3 separate regions of the Homo sapiens genome follow, and regions 1 and 2 are each linked to region 3. The links are contacts of gene promoters, found by promoter capture Hi-C in human tissues and cell types (Jung and others, 2019). All regions are on one chromosome and are shown on one strand. The core of a region is centred on a gene start or on the middle of the fragment in contact, and the rest is flanking DNA. Distances in the headings are between cores, read along the strand shown. Region 1 holds the start of ZNF837 (zinc finger protein 837). Region 2 holds the start of ZNF471 (zinc finger protein 471). Region 3 holds the start of ZNF773 (zinc finger protein 773).

Region 1 (3,408 bases), core at 554-3,053, 880 kb after region 3:
CCTGAACTTGTGGGAGGTGGGGGCTGAGGGGCACCTGCTAGCCATGTGCTAACAGCATCTTCGGATTGGTCCCCAGATGCCCTGCTCCCAGGGGTGGCTCCTCTGCTGCAACAAGAACCTGCCTCCCAGCACCAGACACAGCAGGTGGGAGCTGTGGACCATGGCCGAGTCTCTTCGTCTCCTTGATCTGCTCCCAGGATGCACTGTCCAACTATCCCACCTGTAGGTGGGTGGCATTCCAGCCATGGACCCATGATCTGAGGCTGAGCACAGCAAACACAATCGAGGCTCTGGGTCCCAGGTCCCAGGAGCCCGTCCTTGATGGTGCATTACAGCTCTCCCAGGCTGTTCTTACAGTGACCTCCCACCTGCCCCAGGTGAGCATGCTTGCACCTGGGTGCTCGCCCAGCCTTTCTAGTTGTCCTTAGGGCTTCTGGTGTTGGGAACAGGATGCAGAGTTACCAATTTAGGGGGACTGAGAGGTTAACGTGGCCAAGGCTGAGCCCTGCAGAACTGCAGAGCAACAGCACACACAGGAAAGCTAGTGAGGTTCAACATCCTCATGGAGGTTGCACACGGCACAATGAGGTCTTATTTGCCCAAGAGAATGTGCAGGGAAGTCGCCAGGCACGGTGGTGCATGCCTGTAATCCCAGCTACTCGGGAGGCTGAGGCTGGAGAATCGCTTGAACCCGGGAGGCGGAGGTTGCAGTGAGCCGAGATCGCGCCACTGCACTCCAGCCTGGGCAACAAGAGCGAAACTCCGTCTCAAAACAACAACAACAACAACAACAACAAAAACAGAATGTGCAGGGAAGTCAACGTTGGTGGCTCTGAGGTGTGGAGGACACAGGCTAGTGCCCAGCTCAGCGTGGCTCCACCTCTCTGAGCCACAGACCAACCTCACCCACACTGACAGTCCCAGGGGACACAGACTCTAGCCCCTATGTCCAATTCTACACTGTGCACGCAATGGGAAGAACAGTGCATCATGCACTGTACAGCAGAAGAAATGTCCTCTGAGTGCAGGCACAGCTCCCTTCTGTGTCTGTCCTCCCGACAGTGCCTCCACCCTCAAGGATTAGCAAGCTTCAACCCTCGCAGGACATCCACTGTGTCAGGGCCAAACGGTGCTGCATCCTGCTCTAATAGTGAGTGAAGGAGGGGACCGCAGACAAGAAGAAATGAACAAGAGACCGTTTAAGAGAGAAAAAGACGTGAAGAACATCAGACAGGGAGCAGCGCGAGGGCGCCAGGGAGGGAGGCAGCGGATTCTTCGGGCCTCTGTGAAGAGGGGGCATGAAACCGGTCTGCAGACAAGGAAAGAGCAAAGTGCAAAGGCCAGGATGCGGGGGCAGAGACGGTAGGGAGGCCGGCGTCGGCCTCGGCTAGCAGGTGGGCTTGACTCCGAGAGCCGCAGGCCGCCAGGATGGGTCCCGGGCCTGGAGCCTCCCCTCGCGGGCTTCAATGACACCCAGCACGGAAACGCGGGGGCCAGAACTACAGAAGCCCGTCCCGCCCGGAACTCAAGGTCGCGAGTGCTGTGTGGCCGGTCCGGACCCGGAGCGCGAGGACCGGAAGTGCGCGGCGTCACGCCTCTGCCCCGGACCCCGCGCGCGGAGGTGGAGAGGGGACTGGGGTGGTGGCCGCGCTATGCGCCGGGAGGTCCCCGCCTCGCAGGCCGAGGTTGCGGGTCCGCGCAGAATGCCACTTACTCTCTGGAGGCGGCCCGCACGGGTCCCTGGTCCCCGCCCCGCATGCAGCGCGGAGCCGTCCTCCCGCCACCTCCGGGCCGCCGCGGCACTGAGGGACCCGGGCCACAGCAAGCGCAGGCGGGAACCCGCGCGGGGACTGCTGGGAAACGTAGTCCCGTCATGTCCCGCTTTGACGCTGCGGAGAAAGCGGTGTAGGGAGAGGCTTGGGCTTCGGTTATCATAGAAACAGAGGCCGGCTACACCTAAAAGGCGGGGCGTGGACCTAAGTCGTCGCCAAAGAAACGGCGTTCTGGACGGGGACGTAGGGTCCCGCCCATTCCTTCTCGTGAAAGCGGGTGACTGGTCATGATTATGATTGATAGCCTCCTCTCCCAATCTGATTTCTAAGAGGTCCCAACCCGGAACCGACTTGCGGTTCGCAGGCTCCCCTCGGGTGGGAGAGTTGGGCTGGGAAGCACCTGGGGAGCTCTGAAGTGTCTTGGTGAGCGCGTTGCGAGTCAGACCGATAACATCAGAATCTGGGACTGGGCCCGAGCATATGCGCGTCAAAACTCCTCAGTTAAGTCTATTTTTTTGTATTTTTTTTGGTTTGCTTTTTTGAGACGGGGTCTCGCTCTGTCGCCCAGGCTAATGCAGTGACACCATCACGGTTCACTGCAGCCTCGACCTCCTGAGCTCAAGCGATCCTCCTACTTCAGCCTCCAGAGTAGCTGTTAACAGGGGCGCGCGCCACCACGCCCGGCTAATTTTCTTTCTTCTCTCCCTCCCCCTCCTTCTCCCCCTCCCTTCCTCCTCCCACTATGTCGCCCAGGCTGGTCTCGAACTCCTGTACTGAAGCGACCCTCCCACCTCACCCTCCCGAATAGCTGGGACTATAGGTGGGAGCCACCATGCCTGGATAGTTTTTTTATTTTTATTTATTTATTTATTTTAGAGATAGGGTCTCCATATGTTGCCCAGACTGGTCTGGAACTCCTGGGCTCAAGCGATCCTCGTGTCTCAGCCTTCCAGAGTGCTGGGAGTACAGGCTTGAGCCACTGCGCCAGGCCCCTAGTCCGGCTCCTAGTTGATTCTAACACGTGCGGCCCCATTGGGGAACCACAGCCTCCCCAGCCCCTTTGGGTGTTGCTGACTCTACGGGCCCTCCCAGGTAGGATGAACTGGTCACGCCTCCTACCCATTTGTAACCCCCAGCTCTTGCCCCCATCTATTGTGTGGCTCCTGCCCTCAATAGGGACATCTAATTTTGTTGGCCAGTCCAGCACATATATTGCATGTAACGACCCAGTTTGCCCCACCTTTCTGCCTCCACTGCATCTGCTTCAGGGATGCTGGGACTGTTCCACTCCCTTTCTCCATCCTTTGGGTGTCTGCACATCGAAAGCCTTGTCAGGAGGTCTATCTCCCTGCCCAAGTACAAAACTCAGGGCTTACCAAGCTAATTGAGGGCGAGCAGGAGGCTGAAGGGCACTTGGAGGGCTGCCCGCCTTGTGGGTCCCTTGGTGGCTGAAGAGAGTTGCACAGGAAGGCCTTGACAATTGTCACAGAGAAAGGAGTGCAGCTGCTGGCTCTGTGTGGGTGTGCAGATGTCTGACAGGTTCAGCCACTGGCCCCAATTGGGACACAAGTGGGATTTCTTTTTTTTTTTCTTTTTTGAGACAGTCTTGCTCTGTTGCCCAGGCTGGAGTGCAGTG
Region 2 (3,539 bases), core at 594-3,093, 990 kb before region 3:
TCAGAATGTATCTCCATCCTTTAGCGATGTAGACTGTATTTCCATACTGTAAATAGTCCCCTTGTGGTGGATTTCAATCTACCAATATGACATCACTGAATGTGGAGTTAGAAAGAAAGGTACAGTTCATGGCTCTCAGTTCCTACAGCTCTTTTAATTTCCTAAATGACTGCAGCAATAAAGTATCTTTTGTTAAAATATCTGGCCTTTTGTTCCTGGTTCCTGAAAAAGCTCCAGAACAGCTCCAGAGCCATAAAGGTGAAAGACAGTATTTCAACCACACATGAGTTTATGTTAATGAGGTGATTTTTGGAAACTCTCAAGATAATCCCAATATTTGGGGGGAGTGGTGGCTAGTTGCCAGAGGAACCAGCCATGTGCTCAGAGGACTGGAACTCACAGCTCCACCCTCTACTTCTGGGAAAAGAGAGAGCCTGAAAATTAAGTTGATCGCCAGTGGCCAATGATTTAATCAATCACATCTACATAATGAAACCTTGAAAACCGAAAAGGCCTGAGTTCAAGCGGCTTCCAAGAAGGTAGACAAAAACACATCCTCGTGCTGGGAGGGTGGTGCACCCCAACTCCACGGGCACAGAAGTTCCTGCACTAGGGATTCTCTCGGACCTTGCCCTACATGTCTCTTCATCTGGCTATTTGTATCCTTTAAAATATCTTTTATAATAAACCAGTAAACATAAGTGTTTCCTTGAGTTCTGTGAGCTGCTCTAGCAAACTAATGGAACCCAAGGAGCCGGCTGTGGGAGCCCCAATTTATAGCACATCTCTCTGAAACACAGGTACAACAATCTGGAGTTTGGAATTGGCATGGGAAGTGGGGGACAGTCTTTTGGGACTGAGCTGTCTAACCTGTAGGATCTGATGTTTTCCAGGTAGCGTCAGAATTGAATTGGAGTAGCGGTCACCTGGCTGGTGTCTGCTGCAGACAGGTTTTTTTGACATGTTAAGACATTATAAGAGACAATAGAAAAAATGTATACGATACAACCTTCTCTGAGTTATATTTCTCCATAGCCCTTTTTACTGTTCATCAGACTGTTTATCTAACTCATGAATTTGTGGCTTGTCTCTCTCCGCTTCAAAGTAAATTACATAATAAGAGGACAGGGATTTTTTTTTCTCTGCTGTATCCCCCTGAATTGCTTTTCCTTATTTGTCTCACCTTCCAATACTAATTCTACAGTTCTCCTAGTCAGGGCTAGTCCCCTAAAACGGGGACCATTTCCATTTTGTTAAGGGGCTGAACGCGGTTCAAGCCTAGCAGATTGGTTCCAAAAACGTCGTGTTATTCACTGCCTCTGATCAGTGACATTCCCATTTGCAGCTGAAAGAGGTATTAATTCGCCAGAGTCACAACACGGTCGGGGTTCCTCGTCGCTGTCTTATTCCAAAATAAGCTTAACACAGAAAGATAATGACACTCCCACGGACTGGCACAGAAGGCCGCGCTCCGAATGACATCGCGATCACAGAGGCACAGACAGCGTCACAAAGCCCCACGCGTACTCACACCGAAGGCTCAGCCGTCGCGCGTTTCCCTCCCAGGCCCCAGGAACTAGTAACTAGGGACGCTTCTGGTCTCTAGGCGAGGAGAGGGGGAGAGCGCAATCTTTGCGCCTGCGCACACTCCTGCTCTTACCCGCCGGAACCCTGGGCCACGCCCGGCTCGCGTAATCACGCACTGCGCAGGCACCGCCCGCTCTGCTCTAAGGTCCCTCTCACTCCTTCAGCAGCCCGAGGACAATCCCCTCAACACTAGGCCACGCCTTGTCTCCGCCCCTCTCGTCCGACCCCTGGAGAGAGGCTGGCGCCTGCGCGATGGGGGGTTCCAGCGTCGACTCACGGAGTCCTTCGGATGAGAGCGTCTGGGTGCCAGACGAGGCCGGGGGTTTGTTTTGGGTGGTTTGGGAGTCCGAGCTCGAGGGCTGGGCCAGGAAGGGCAGGCGAGGCGGGCGGCTCCGACGCGGGTCGCGAAGGCCCAGCCGCGTCCTCTGTCCCCAGGACGACTACATTTCCCAGAGGCCAGCGGGGCGCGCGTACTCGAGTCTGCGGGGCGGAGGCCGCGGCTCGGGGCTGCTGGGCGTTCGGGGCGGCTTGGGGCGGCGGGACCACTGGAGTGAGCTGTGGGAGAGATGGGGGTGTGCCTGTGTGTAAAAGATCTGTCAGAGTGTGAGGCTCCGTGAGAGGGTGTGGTTTCTGTGTGTGTGTGTGTGTGTGTGTGACAGACCGAGAGTCCAGTGTGAGACCAGGGTATGTTCGTGTGTGACAGAGCGAGACGGGCCAGTGTGAGAGACCAGTGAGTGTGAGAGAGATAGGGATGTGCCTGCATTTGAAAGAGAGCGTGTGAAGCTCAGTGAGAGGTTGCGAGGTGTGTGGGTGTGTAAGTGTGTAACAGACCAGGTGTCCAGAGCGTGAGACCAGGATGTATTCGTGTGAGAGAGTGAGACGGGCTGGATGGAGTGTGAGAGACCAGTGAGTGTGAGAGATGGGCGTGTGCCTGTGTGTGAAAGGCCGGTCGGTCGGTGGGTGAGGCTCAATGAGAGGCCGGTGTGTGTTCGAGAGAGAGAAGAATCACCATGTATGCGAGACTAGACTGTGCAAGAACAGAGTGTGAGACTGTGGTATGTTAATGTGTGAAAGGGAGACCAGTGAGTGTGAGAAATGGGTGTTTTGGGTGAAAGACCCGTCAGTGTGTGAGGCCGTGTTATGTGTGTCTGACAGACTGAGAGAGACCAGAGTGTGAGACCAGGGTGTGTTCGTGTGTGAGAGACAACATAGCGTGAGACCAGTGAGTGTGAGAGAGATGAGCACGTGGCTGTGTGTGAAAGACCAGTCATTATGTGAGGCTCCTTGAGAGGCTGGTGTGTGTGTATGAGAGAGAGAAAGAGACTAAACTGTGAGAGTCCAAAGAGTGAGACTAGGTTATGTTGTTATGAGTTTGTGAGAGAGAGGGAGGCGATCAAAGTATAGGACAAAGTTATGTTTCCTGGCTTACGACTTCTAAGATCCTTGGAATCTCCAAAGTATTAAGTGTCTTTTTGCATGCTAATGATTGGTGGGCTGGCAGCCTGTAGGTTGATCACGGTAAGGGATGGTCACAAGAACAATCTAGGCAGGATTAGAGGGTTGGGATTACCTGCCCCATCCCTCAATCTCCAGGGAAAGGAAAGGGAGCCACAGGTTAAACTGATCATCAGTGGTCAGTGATTTAACCAGTCATGCCTACATTATGAAGCTTCCATAAAAACCCAAAAGGACTGGGTTCATCAAACTTCCAGATAGCTGAACACTGGAGGTTCCTGTAGGATGAGCCCCTTCCTATATAACCTTGTCCTATGCATTTCTTCACCTGCATCCTTTGTAATATCCTTTATTACTACAAACGTGTTTCCCTAAGTTCTGTGAGCTGCCCTAGCAAATTAATTGAACGCAAGGAGGGGGTCATAGGAACCCCGATTTATAGCTAGTCAGAAGCACAAGTAAAACAACCTGGGGTTTGCAACTGGCATTGGAAGTGG
Region 3 (3,436 bases), core at 476-2,975:
AGCTGACCCTTAAATAACACAGGTTTGAAATGCACAGGTCCAATTATATGTGAATGTTTTTCAATAAATATACTGGAAAAAATTTTTGAATATTTGAGACAATTTCAAAAAACCAGAATTCATTGAAATAGGTATGCCAAGAATGCATAACACAAAATATATGTAGGTTCTATTTTATCATTACAAAACCAGAGCGATATTTTCTTTTCTTTTTTTTTGTTTTTGAGACGGATTCTCTCCCTGTCGCCCAGGCTGGAGTGCAGTGGCATGAACTCCACTCACTGCAAGCTCCACCTCCCGGGTTCATGCCATTCTCCCGTCTCAGCCTCCCGAGTAGCTGGGACTACAGGCACCTGCTACCACACCCGGCTAATTTTTTGTATTTTTTAGTACAGACGGGGTTTCACCGTGTTAGCCAGGATAGTCTCGATCTCCTGACCTTGTGATCCACCCGCCTTGGCCTCCCAAAGTGCTGGGATTACAGGCGTAAGCCACCACCTCCCTACTCTTTCTACCCAATAAATATGAAGGTCTGTGGAAGCTCAGGGCCCTTCCTCACTAGAAGCAAGAAGCCCCCTGACCCCTTCTTTAAAACAGATTTATTTTGCCTTTGTTTTCATTTCTGCATTCGTTCCCCTTCGTTCAGTCCCATAGTAACTGTGACAGGAATATGGAGCAGAAATGGATGAAGGGGAGAAATTGAGGGGGAGTTGGCTTATGGGTTTGCTGCCTGTTGTTGTGCCTTTACACCAATGTTGGGTCCTTGAGGAAGGAAAGAACACAAATGAGAATGGGGTGAAAGAGGAACGTAAATCCTTGGGCTCCCCTACTCTCTCATCACCTACATCCAGAATTCAGAGCCTTTTCTTATTATCATACATCAGGCATTAATATTGGGTGTCCCCTTGCCAAAGGAAATTTAGGAAGGTATACGTGGCTTTGCCCAGTGAAACCTCTTTATGGTGGCCCTGAAGATCCTCTTCAAGTCCTTCAAAAGAAGGAAAGATTGGAGTATCAGCTGCAGGAAACTGAAATCCAGGCCCATCTCCAATTACAACAGGTTCCAGATGAGTCCGAGAGTTCTCGACACTCATTTCTCCTCCATCTCCTACTCCATCATCTCCATCTCCATCTTCTCCATCATCTCCATCTTCATCATCATCTCCATCTCCATCATCTCCATGTCCATCATCATCTCTATCTCCATCATCTCCATCTCCATCATCTCCATCTCCATCATCATCTCTATCTCCATCATCATCTCTATCTCCATCATCTCCATCTCCATCATCTCCATCATCTCCATCTCCATCTCCTACTCCATCATCTCCATCTCCATCTTCTCCATCATCTCCATCTTCTCCATCATCTCCATCTTCTCCATCATCTCCATCTTCATCATCTCCATTTCCATCATCTCCATCTCCATCATCATCTCTATCTCCATCATCTCCATCTCCATCATCTCCATCATCTCCATCTCCATCTCCATCTCCATCATCTACCGTCTCCAATCTCCATCTCCGAAGTTATGCCCACTTCCTCGAAGTTTGGAGCCACGCGAACTACACTGCCCAGAAGGCGCCGCGCCGTGAGCCGCGATGCTTGGCCAATGAAAAGAGGTCTACCCGAGAGTGCGACGCGCAATGGGCGGGACTTCCGGCGTCTCCCCTCGGCGGTTGCTTTCGCTGCCCTCAAGAGAACTCAGCTTGCCGGAAGCTGGTTGTTCGCTGCGGCGACCAGCTCCGGAAAGCGCGGTGGGGACGCGCTGTGTTCTCGCAGCTCAGAGGCGGGTCTGAGGCTCGGTGGCGGCGCCCAGGGTGGCCCGGGCCCTTTCCTCGGTCGTTGTCTCACCGCCACAGGCTCCGATGGCGGCGGCCACGCTGAGGGACCCCGCTCAGGTGAGCGCCGCGTCCTCCCGGCCTCCCCCGAATCCTAAAGCCCTGTGAGGGCCGCCTGCTCAGGTCCCCGGGTGCAGAACTGTGGGGCGTTCGTGGGCGGCGTCCCGTTTCTGACACGCAGTGTGATGGGGTGGCAATGGAGGGCAAGGGGCCCGGCTCGCAAAGATGTGAGGCGCATTCAGCGAGTCCCGAACCTGAGGCCTCCTGGTGTCTGTAGTGGGCAGCTTGGGAAGGGACGAGGCGCGTGTCGAGCGACAGCCCGAGCAGCTGCGCTTTCATCCTGAGGGGGCCACAGTGGCCGCGGAGGGCTGGAGACAGAAGAGTGACAAGATCTGTTTCTCAAAGTTTGCCAAAGGCCCTTCAAGTCAAAACAGACTGGGGTGGGGGTGAGGCGGGTGAAGACAGACCTGTGAGTAGGTAAATTCAGTAGACTAGTGGAGAGTCTACTGGGACTGGGCCACAGAGGAGGGGAAGTGATCAGATCTTGGATGGATTTCAAAAACTGAACAGACGGGAATTCCTGTTGCATCAGATGTGACTGTGAAAGAAAGTAGGGAATGAAGAGCCATTCTGGATTTTTATTTGTATTTTTGTTTGTTCCTGAATATCAGGAAGGATGGAGATGGGTAAGGCTGTGCAGGGAATAGGTTTTGGGCATGGTGATCCTGAGATGTCCCAGAGTGGAGGTGTCATGTCCACATGAGCAGCTGGAAGGCCTGGGGCTCGTATTTAGGAGGGAGAATCTTAAAGTTTTCTTTCAGATGGTCCCTGAGGTGAGGGAAGGGAGAGATGGGCCTGTAGGATGGGGCAGCCTCTACAGCCTGGAGTTTCGTGGTCCGAAGTGATTTTGTCTGGTGCCTGCAGGAATGGAGGGTTATAGAGTATGAACACCCAGGACTGGATGGAGACCGCAGTGTTGGGTAGTATATAGGTTTGCCACTCCAGGCTTAGTAGTTCCTCATGTCCAGTCCATATGGAGAAAAGGAAAGGTCAGCCAGGCTGGTGGAGCAGCACCTTTGGTGCCTAAGTTTCCCTAGCTATCAGCACAGGTGGGATGATCAACTGCTCCAGTAGAAGGGAGGGCTCTCAGCAGGATGGTCTTCAGGGGAGTATATAGCAGGCAGCCAGATTGCCAAAAGGAAACCCACATTGTCTTTCTTTTTCTTTCTTTTTTTTTTTTTTTTGAGACAGAATTCTGCTCTTGTGATCTGCCCACCTCGGCCTCCCAAAGTGTTGGGATTACAGGCTTGAGCCACTGCACCCAGGCAGAAACCCACATTTTGAAAACCTACCAGTTTATTTGCACTGAAAATGTTGACAGAAGCATTAATTATGTGTACAGTAAGAGTTGATATTTAGTCCTAGACACATAAGAATGAGTTTGATACAAACAATAGTCCTATTGAGTGAATACCATTATTGCCATGTTGCAGATGGCAATACCAAGGCACAGGGAAGTTGAGCATTTTTCCAAGGGCACACAACAGGTAAGAGGCATCACTAAGAACCAAAGCCCAGATTGCAGATAGTCAGGC

The links. The method cuts DNA at HindIII sites, captures the fragments that hold promoters and counts their contacts. A contact is called where the count stands out against the background at its distance.
Region 1: the fragment with the promoter of ZNF837 here is called in contact with the fragment with the promoter of ZNF773 in region 3 in 1 of the 25 tissues and cell types used here (spleen).
Region 2: the fragment with the promoter of ZNF471 here is called in contact with the fragment with the promoter of ZNF773 in region 3 in 1 of the 25 tissues and cell types used here (adrenal gland).

What each region holds. Positions count from the first base shown.
Region 1 is chr19:58,379,227-58,382,634 of GRCh38, forward strand. It overlaps ZNF837 (zinc finger protein 837), which reads right to left and starts at 1,804. Exons shown (of 3, transcript NM_138466.2): 1 at 1,715-1,804. RefSeq lists enhancers at 528-1,069, 886-1,115, 1,070-1,611, 1,146-1,205 and a silencer at 1,556-2,065. The HindIII fragment of the contact is 47,170 bases long and covers 1-3,408 here.
Region 2 is chr19:56,506,012-56,509,550 of GRCh38, forward strand. ZNF471 (zinc finger protein 471) reads left to right here and starts at 1,844. Exons shown (of 5, transcript NM_020813.4): 1 at 1,844-1,909. The HindIII fragment of the contact is 4,462 bases long and covers 352-3,539 here.
Region 3 is chr19:57,498,213-57,501,648 of GRCh38, forward strand. It overlaps ZNF773 (zinc finger protein 773), which reads left to right and starts at 1,726. Exons shown (of 4, transcript NM_198542.3): 1 at 1,726-1,901. The coding sequence starts at 1,869. The HindIII fragment of the contact is 9,164 bases long and covers 1-3,436 here.